2 separate regions of the Homo sapiens genome follow, and region 2 is linked to region 1. The links are contacts of gene promoters, found by promoter capture Hi-C in human tissues and cell types (Jung and others, 2019). All regions are on one chromosome and are shown on one strand. The core of a region is centred on a gene start or on the middle of the fragment in contact, and the rest is flanking DNA. Distances in the headings are between cores, read along the strand shown.

Region 1 (3,743 bases), core at 525-3,024:
TCTGCTGATTAATTCTATCAATCCAGCTCTCAGTAATCTCTGCATTGCCATCTATTTTCTTCCTGTAGTGCTCAGTTTTAATTCACATTTTCTATAAGTCTATTGATTCTTTTTATAAGCATGTTTGTTTTCTAAATACACTTTTATCATCATTCCCTCTTCTCCTTCTAATATTGAGGTATTCCACCTCTGTTTTCTTTGTGTCTCTTCTGTTCCCACACTTTAATGGTGGAAGGTCCTCAGAATCCAGTTTAAGTCTTTTTTCCCTCTCCACTTCCTCCCCACATGACAGCCTTCATTTTTGGCCTTTCCATTGCCAGTTATGAACTTCCAGATATCGTATTCCTTGGAAACTGCAAACTCATATATCTGACTGGCAATGTACATTTTCAATTACATGTTTGAAAGTCAGTTTATCTCTACTTTTTTTTCCAGACATGTCTCAATCTACCTTGTGCTAAGAAGAATTCATTGCTTTTTTACTTCGTTACCATACAGCAGTTTGTATAACTGATATTAATTCAGCATTATTATTGTTTTTAGATTTATTTCCTGACAAAAATCAAAGATACAAGAGAACAGGAGCTGTATTTTTTATATTCATGTTTACATCCTTAAGGCAACATATAACCTGGTATAGAAAATGTATTTTTCTATAACTTGAATAAAATTATGATAGGTAACTTGATTAAATCATCTATTTTGAAATCAGGTTGTACAGTCAGGCTTGACGTTTTATCTTAAAAAATAACCAAACACAAGAAATTTTGTATAGTAAAAATTTAATGAAAAAGGAAATTAATATATTGGCTAAATATGAAGAACATATTTGTTATATTAACCACAATGTAAAGGTACACATGATATTACATAAAAAATAATTTAAATAATAAAAATAGTTAAATAAATAAATATTTAAATAAATAGATGAAAGGAGACATCAGCATGGTCATCTGTAAAGGACTAGTGCCTGCACAGGTATACATGATGCTTCTTTACACTCCTGAAAACATTTGAAAATTTTGATTCAACTTGTGGTGGTTATAGGAGAAGTGAGTCTTTGAAATGGAAGAACTCATGAAAGTGTGAGATGATGTATTAGTCAATGAGAATCATTTCCATGATGAACCAGTTTTCAATCCTTCCTCCTTAATCTTTTTTGCAAGTTTGTTGAAAAAGAGAGGGATCTCATGATTTCTGCTCTGACAACCTCCCAGGCACAAGGGCTGTATTTCTTCTCCATCAGATAAAGAGTGATTCTTTGGAAGTATTTCTTCACAGCCAGGATGGAGTCCTCATTCATCAGGGGAGTCTCTTCCACCCCAACCTCCTGTATCACACAGGCTTCCAGGTCATTCATTTGCTGGAAAAGTTCAATGTAGAATTTTTCTAGGAGGGTCTCATCCCAAGCAGCAGATGAGTTCTTTGTGCTGAAGAGATTGAAGGTCTGCTGCATCATCTCATGGAGGACAGAGATGGCTTGAGCTTTCTGGAACTGGTTGCCATCAAATTCCTCCTGGGGAAATTCAAAGTCATGTCTGTCCTTCAGGCAGGAGAAAGGAGAGATTCTCCTCATTTGTGCCATGAGCATCAAAGTCCTCCTGTTATTCAGGCTGTGGGTTTGAGACAGATTACAGCCCAGAGAGCAGCTTGACTTGCAGCTGAGCACCACCAGGGCCATCATTAAAGCAAAGGGCAATGCCATTGGGAATCCCGAAGATGCTGCTGGGCTGGTTGATGAGGGGTAACACTGAACCTTGGGTTGTAGGTTTTCTGAAGACCTTGCTCTGTGCATAGGTCTTAAATAAGGAACATACTAGCTTCCATTTTCTGAACGTCTTCATGTTTTTTTCTACTTCTCTTTTGGCTTTCCTTTATGTCCTGTCTACATGGGTGTAGAGCAGTTTCTCAACCACTTTTATTTTCAGTATTACCTCATCTTTCCCTGCCCCATGGGCTTTTTAGAAATTTCTTTCTAATTCAAAGTCCCATTAAATTTTAATAACACAGACATACCATATATTTGTTGATATACTGTACATATCTATTTATAAGGAGTGTAAAGTTTAATCTTTTTATTTAACATAGTGTTAAGAATGACCAAATGGGCTGGGCCCGGTGGCTCACACTTGTAATTCCAGCACTTTGGGAGACCAAGGCAGATGGATCACGAGGTCAGCAGTTCAAGACCAGACTTGCCAACATGGTGAAACCCCGTCTCTGCTAAAAATACAAAAATTAGTCGGGCATGGTGGCAGGTGCCTGTAATCCTAGCTACTCAGGTGGCTGGAGCAGGAGAATTGCTTGAACCCGGGAGGCAGTGGTTGCAGTGAGCCAAGATTGCAACATTGCACTCCAGCCTGGGTGACAGAGCGAGTCTCCATCTCAAAAAAAAAAAGAAAGAAAGAAAAAAAGAAGACCAAATGAAATTTTTAAGCTAAAAGTTAATAGTTAAATTTAAAACCCATGGACATTTAACTCAATTTGTTTGTGTCTTTAAAATGATTTATTTACCTATATAAATTGTAATGTGTCCAATTCCATCAGCAAATTAACAAATTATAAAAACACATAATAATACCTAATATTATAAAATACTTAAAAATCATTTAAAACTGCTAAAGACTACTAAAATTTAATTTTTTAACATTTACTTTTAGTCTAACTTAATTTTCTGTCATGTTAGAAAATGTTTAACTTCACTAGCTGCTAGATATTCATCCAGATATTGTATAGATTTTTTTCTCTTCAGTGCTTGACATAATTATTGATGTATTGAGCACCTTTAGTAGAATTAAATAATAAAATATAAAGTATTTGCATTTAATTCTGAAAGCCCACAGCACAGTCAGAAATGCTAAGGATTAAACATAAGCAACATTCACAAGATGGCTAATGACAGCCCATATGTATACAGAGGCCACCTCAGATGTTATGACTTTGATGTCTAGTAAACCTTAGAAATTCCTCCAATCACAGCACCCATTTGACATAGGTTTGTAACGCTGATCTTATATACCTTGTGTGTATCTTCCATGAACTCAATGTCAGTACTTTTCATGTGATACACAAGATAACCCAATGGAAAAAAAGTACTAAGGAATAAGGTTTTGTCAGATAGAGTTGAGTTTTAGAGTGCTACCAATCACCGAAATACCCAAGATTTGTCAACACACTCAAAAATAACTTTTACACTTTTGGGAGCAATATCATACTGAAGGAGTATATGTAGTTAAGAAAAAGCCATTAATTTGATTAAACAAATTTTTGGCCCTAAAATTCAAATTTCCAAAGGACCTGCAGATGTTCCAATTCTAGTTGATTTTTATCAAACTAAAGGAAACCCTTTTTGTCCTAAATGTCCATAATGGGATGTAAATGTGATAACATAAATGTGTTGTACAATTGTTTCACATGCAGGACACCAGAAACCTTTATTTCTCATTTTCATTTTCATTTTTATTGAAAACAAAGGTTGTCACTTTTTGCATCCTAAAGAACTGGGACAAAAGAAACCCCAAAACAAATGTATATCTAAATGTGATAAAAATGTAAAAAGGAAGCAATATATTAATGGGAAAAAAACAAGGACAAAAAGCAACTTACGTACATTCAGCCCAGCCAAGTTGGAGATTAAGGAATGGGGAAGAACAGAAGCAGGAAAGTAGAACGGATGTAGATCAAAGGCAGCAAATGGGCATGGGCTAGAAGAAAAGTAATCATTCCTGAACAAGGGTGTGTTT
Region 2 (3,743 bases), core at 900-3,399, 130 kb after region 1:
AGAGAACATTCCCTTTTCTGTTTTCTCATTTTCTTTTTTTTCTTTTCTTTTCTTTTTTTTTTTTTTTTTTTTTGGGGACGGAGTATTGTTCTATTGCCCAGGGGCTGTAGTGCAGAGGCGCCATCTCTGCCTCCGGGGTTCAAGTGATTCTCCTGCCTCAGCCTCCCGAATAGATGGGATCACAGCTACCCAACACCATGCCTGGCCAAATTTTTGGTTTTTAGTAGAGACAGGGTTTCACCATATTGTCCAGGCTGGTCTTGAACCCCTGAACTCAAGTGATCCACCCACCTTGGCTTCCAAAGTGCTGAGATTACAAACATGAGCCACTGCACCCAGTCCCTTTTCTGATATATATGCACTAATTAAGAAAATAATAACCATATATTTATAAAATAAGAAAATAAGCATATATACATATGTTTTATATATATACACTATATATAAAATATATATATAGTGTGTGTGTGTATGTGTGTGTGTGTGTATATATATACATATATATACGTATATATATATATGTACGTATATATATACACACACACACACATACACACACACACACACACACACATACATTCTAGAGGCTGGTCTGCCTGAGATTTAGGCAGAGACACAGTTCCAGACCATATTAATCACCATTGTCTCTATTTGTCCATCCCTCTGTTTCCTTTGTGGCTCTTCTCTTCCTTCCCTTTAAAGGTGGAAGGTCCTTAGAATCACGTTTAAGTCCTTTTCTCTGTCTACACTCTCTCCACACATGAGCACTTTCATTTCTGGGATTTTGCTTGCCACATATGAACTCCCAGCAATTGCATTCCTTATAATTTGCAAACTCACATATCCAACTGGCAATAGACAGTTTCTACCACATGTTGTATCAGTCAACTTATAGAGGATATCTGTTTATTTTTATTTCCTCACATGTTTCAGTTTACCTCCTGCCGAAAGAAATCATTGTTCATTCCTTTTTCTCCTTATAGTATTCAGGATAACTGATACTAAGTATGATTACTATTTTTAGTTTTATTCCATACAAAAATCAAACATGCAAGAGAGTAGGAAGTAGATTTATTGTATTCACCTTTATAACTTGAGTACAACATACAACCTGGTTTAGAGAAAGGTCATTTTTACTTACATCTCTCATATAATAATGATGAGTAAATAAATTATACCCTTTATTCTCTCATCAGGTTGCACAGTCAGGCTAGGAATTTTGTATTAAAGAATGAACACATACAGGAAGTTCCTATAGTAAAAGTTTAATGAACAACATAAAATAATGAATTGAGTAGATATAAGGAACATGTTTTATTACACTAACCACAGTGTAAAGATGCACATGATGTTATATGAACAAAAATAATTTAAATCTTATGAATAGCTAAATAAATATTTAAATAGATAAATCAGTTTATCAGCATGGTCATAGTTATAGCAGAAGTGAGAGTCTTTGAAATGGCAGAATTCATGAAAGCGTGACCTGGTATATGAGTCAATAAGAATTGTTTCATGTTGGACCAGGTGTTATTCCTTCCTCCTTAATCTTTCTTGCAAGTTTGTTGATAAAGAGAGGGATCTCATGATTTCTGCTCTGACAACCTCCCAGGCACAAGGGCTGTATTTCTTCTCTGTCAGATAGAGAGTGATTCTTCGGAAGTATTTCTTCACAGCCAAGATGGAGTCCGCATTCATCAGGGGAGTTTCTCCCACCCTCTCCTCCTGCATCACACAGGCTTCCAAGTCATTCAGCTGCTGGTAGAGTTCGGTGCAGAATTTGTCTAGGAGGTCCTCATCCCAAGCAGCAGATGAATCTTTTGTGGTAAAGAGGTTGAAGATCTGCTGGATCAGCTCATGGAGGACAGAGATGGCTGGAGCCTTCTGGAACTGGTTGCCATCAAACTCCTCCTGGGGAAATCCAAAGTCATGTCTGTCCATCAGACAGGAGGAAGGAGAGATTCTGCTCATTTGTGCCAGGAGCATCAAGGTCCTCCTGTTATCCAGGCTGTGGGTCTCAGGGAGATCACAGCCCAGAGAGCAGCTTGACTTGCAGCTGAGCACCACCAGGGCCATCAGTAAAGCAAAGGGCGAGGCCATCATAGATATTGCAGATGCTTCTGGGCTTGCTGAGATGGGTGACTCTGAACCTTGGGCTCTAGGTTCTCTGAAGGCTTTGCTTCCTGCAGATGCCTTAAATAGGGAACATACTGATTTCCACTTTCTTAATGCTTCTGGACCACTTTCCATTTCTGTTTTTGCTTTCCTTCTTGAACTCTTTACATGAGTTTAGAGCCGTGTTTCTCAACCATTTTGTTTTTCATTATTGTCTCCCCCATCTTGTTCCCAGAGACTTTTTAGATTTTTTTTCCTAATTGAACCCACCGTGAAAATTTAATAACACAGATATAATATCTATCTATTTGTGTACTATATGTATATCTCTATACTCAAAAAGTACAAAGTTTAATCATTTTATTCAATGCAAGTTTAAAAATAACCAAATGAAAATTTTAAGATAAAAGTTAAATTTAAACGCTATTCAAATTTAACTTAACTTTATAACTAAATTTGCTTGTGGGCTTCAATATAGTTTATTTACTGATATAAATTGTAATGTATTAAATTACATAAGAAATTTAACAAATTATAAACATTATCTAATGTTTCTAGATAAACATTATACAGCTAAGTAATGAATGTTTATGAATTATTTGAAACTGATAAAGACTTAATAATTTAAAATATTTTTATCATTTATTTTTATTATACTTAACTTTTAATTTTGTTGCATGTGAGAAAATTTTTAACTTCACTAGCTGCTAGATACTCACCTAGAGAGTGTGAAGAATTTTTTCTTCAATTCTTGACCTAAATATAGATGTGTTGAACAACTTCAGTAGAATTGTTAAAATATAAATTATTTATATTTCATTTCAAAGCCCACAACACAGACAGAAATGCTAAGGATCAAACATAAGCAATATCTATAAGATGGCCAGTGACAAACCATATGTATGCAGAGGACACCTCTCATGATATGACTTTGAGATCTAATACATCTTGGAAAGTACTCCAATCACAGCTACCCATTTGCCATAGGTTTGTAATGCTGAACTTTTATACCTTTTGTGTATCTTCCATGAACTCAATGTCAGTGCTTCTCATGTGATACACAAGAAAACCCAATGGAGAGAAAAAAAAAAAAACTAAGGAATAAGATTTTGTTAAATAGGTTGAGCTTTGAAGGGCCACAAACCATTTAAATATGTAAGATTTGTTCCCACTCCCAAGAACTAACTTCTACATCCTTGGGAGTAGTATCATATGCAATGAGAATACACAATTGAAAAAACATCCTCGATTTGATTAAAAATTTTTTGCATGAAAGTTCAAATTTCCAAGGTGCCTTCAGAGGTTCTTTGCTGATTCCTAGCAAACTAAAGGAAACTATCTTTGTCCTAGATGCGCATAATAGGATGTAAATATAATAACATAAATAAGTAGACAATTGTTTTACATAGCATGCCAGACACCAGATATCTTTCTTTCTCATTTCATTTTCATAGAAAGCAAAAGTTGTCACTTTTTGCATCCTAACTAATGGGAACAAAAAGATAACACAAGTGGCCGGGCGTCGTGGCTCACATGTGTAATGCCAGCACTTTGAGAGGCCGAGGCAGACGGATCATCTGAGGTTGGGAGTTTGAGACCAGCCTGACCAACATAGTGGAGGTTAAGGG

What was found. Contacts are between HindIII fragments. The study calls those that stand out against the background at their distance.
Region 2: the fragment with the promoter of IFNA13 here is called in contact with the fragment with the promoter of IFNA14 in region 1 in 1 of the 25 tissues and cell types used here (neural progenitor cells).

The regions. Positions count from the first base shown.
Region 1 is chr9:21,238,231-21,241,973 of GRCh38, forward strand. IFNA14 (interferon alpha 14) reads right to left here and starts at 1,775. Exons shown (of 1, transcript NM_002172.3): 1 at 772-1,775. The coding sequence starts at 1,705. The coding sequence ends at 1,136. The HindIII fragment of the contact is 10,904 bases long and covers 1-3,743 here.
Region 2 is chr9:21,365,908-21,369,650 of GRCh38, forward strand. IFNA13 (interferon alpha 13) reads right to left here and starts at 2,150. Exons shown (of 1, transcript NM_006900.4): 1 at 1,465-2,150. The coding sequence starts at 2,103. The coding sequence ends at 1,531. The HindIII fragment of the contact is 15,253 bases long and covers 1-3,743 here.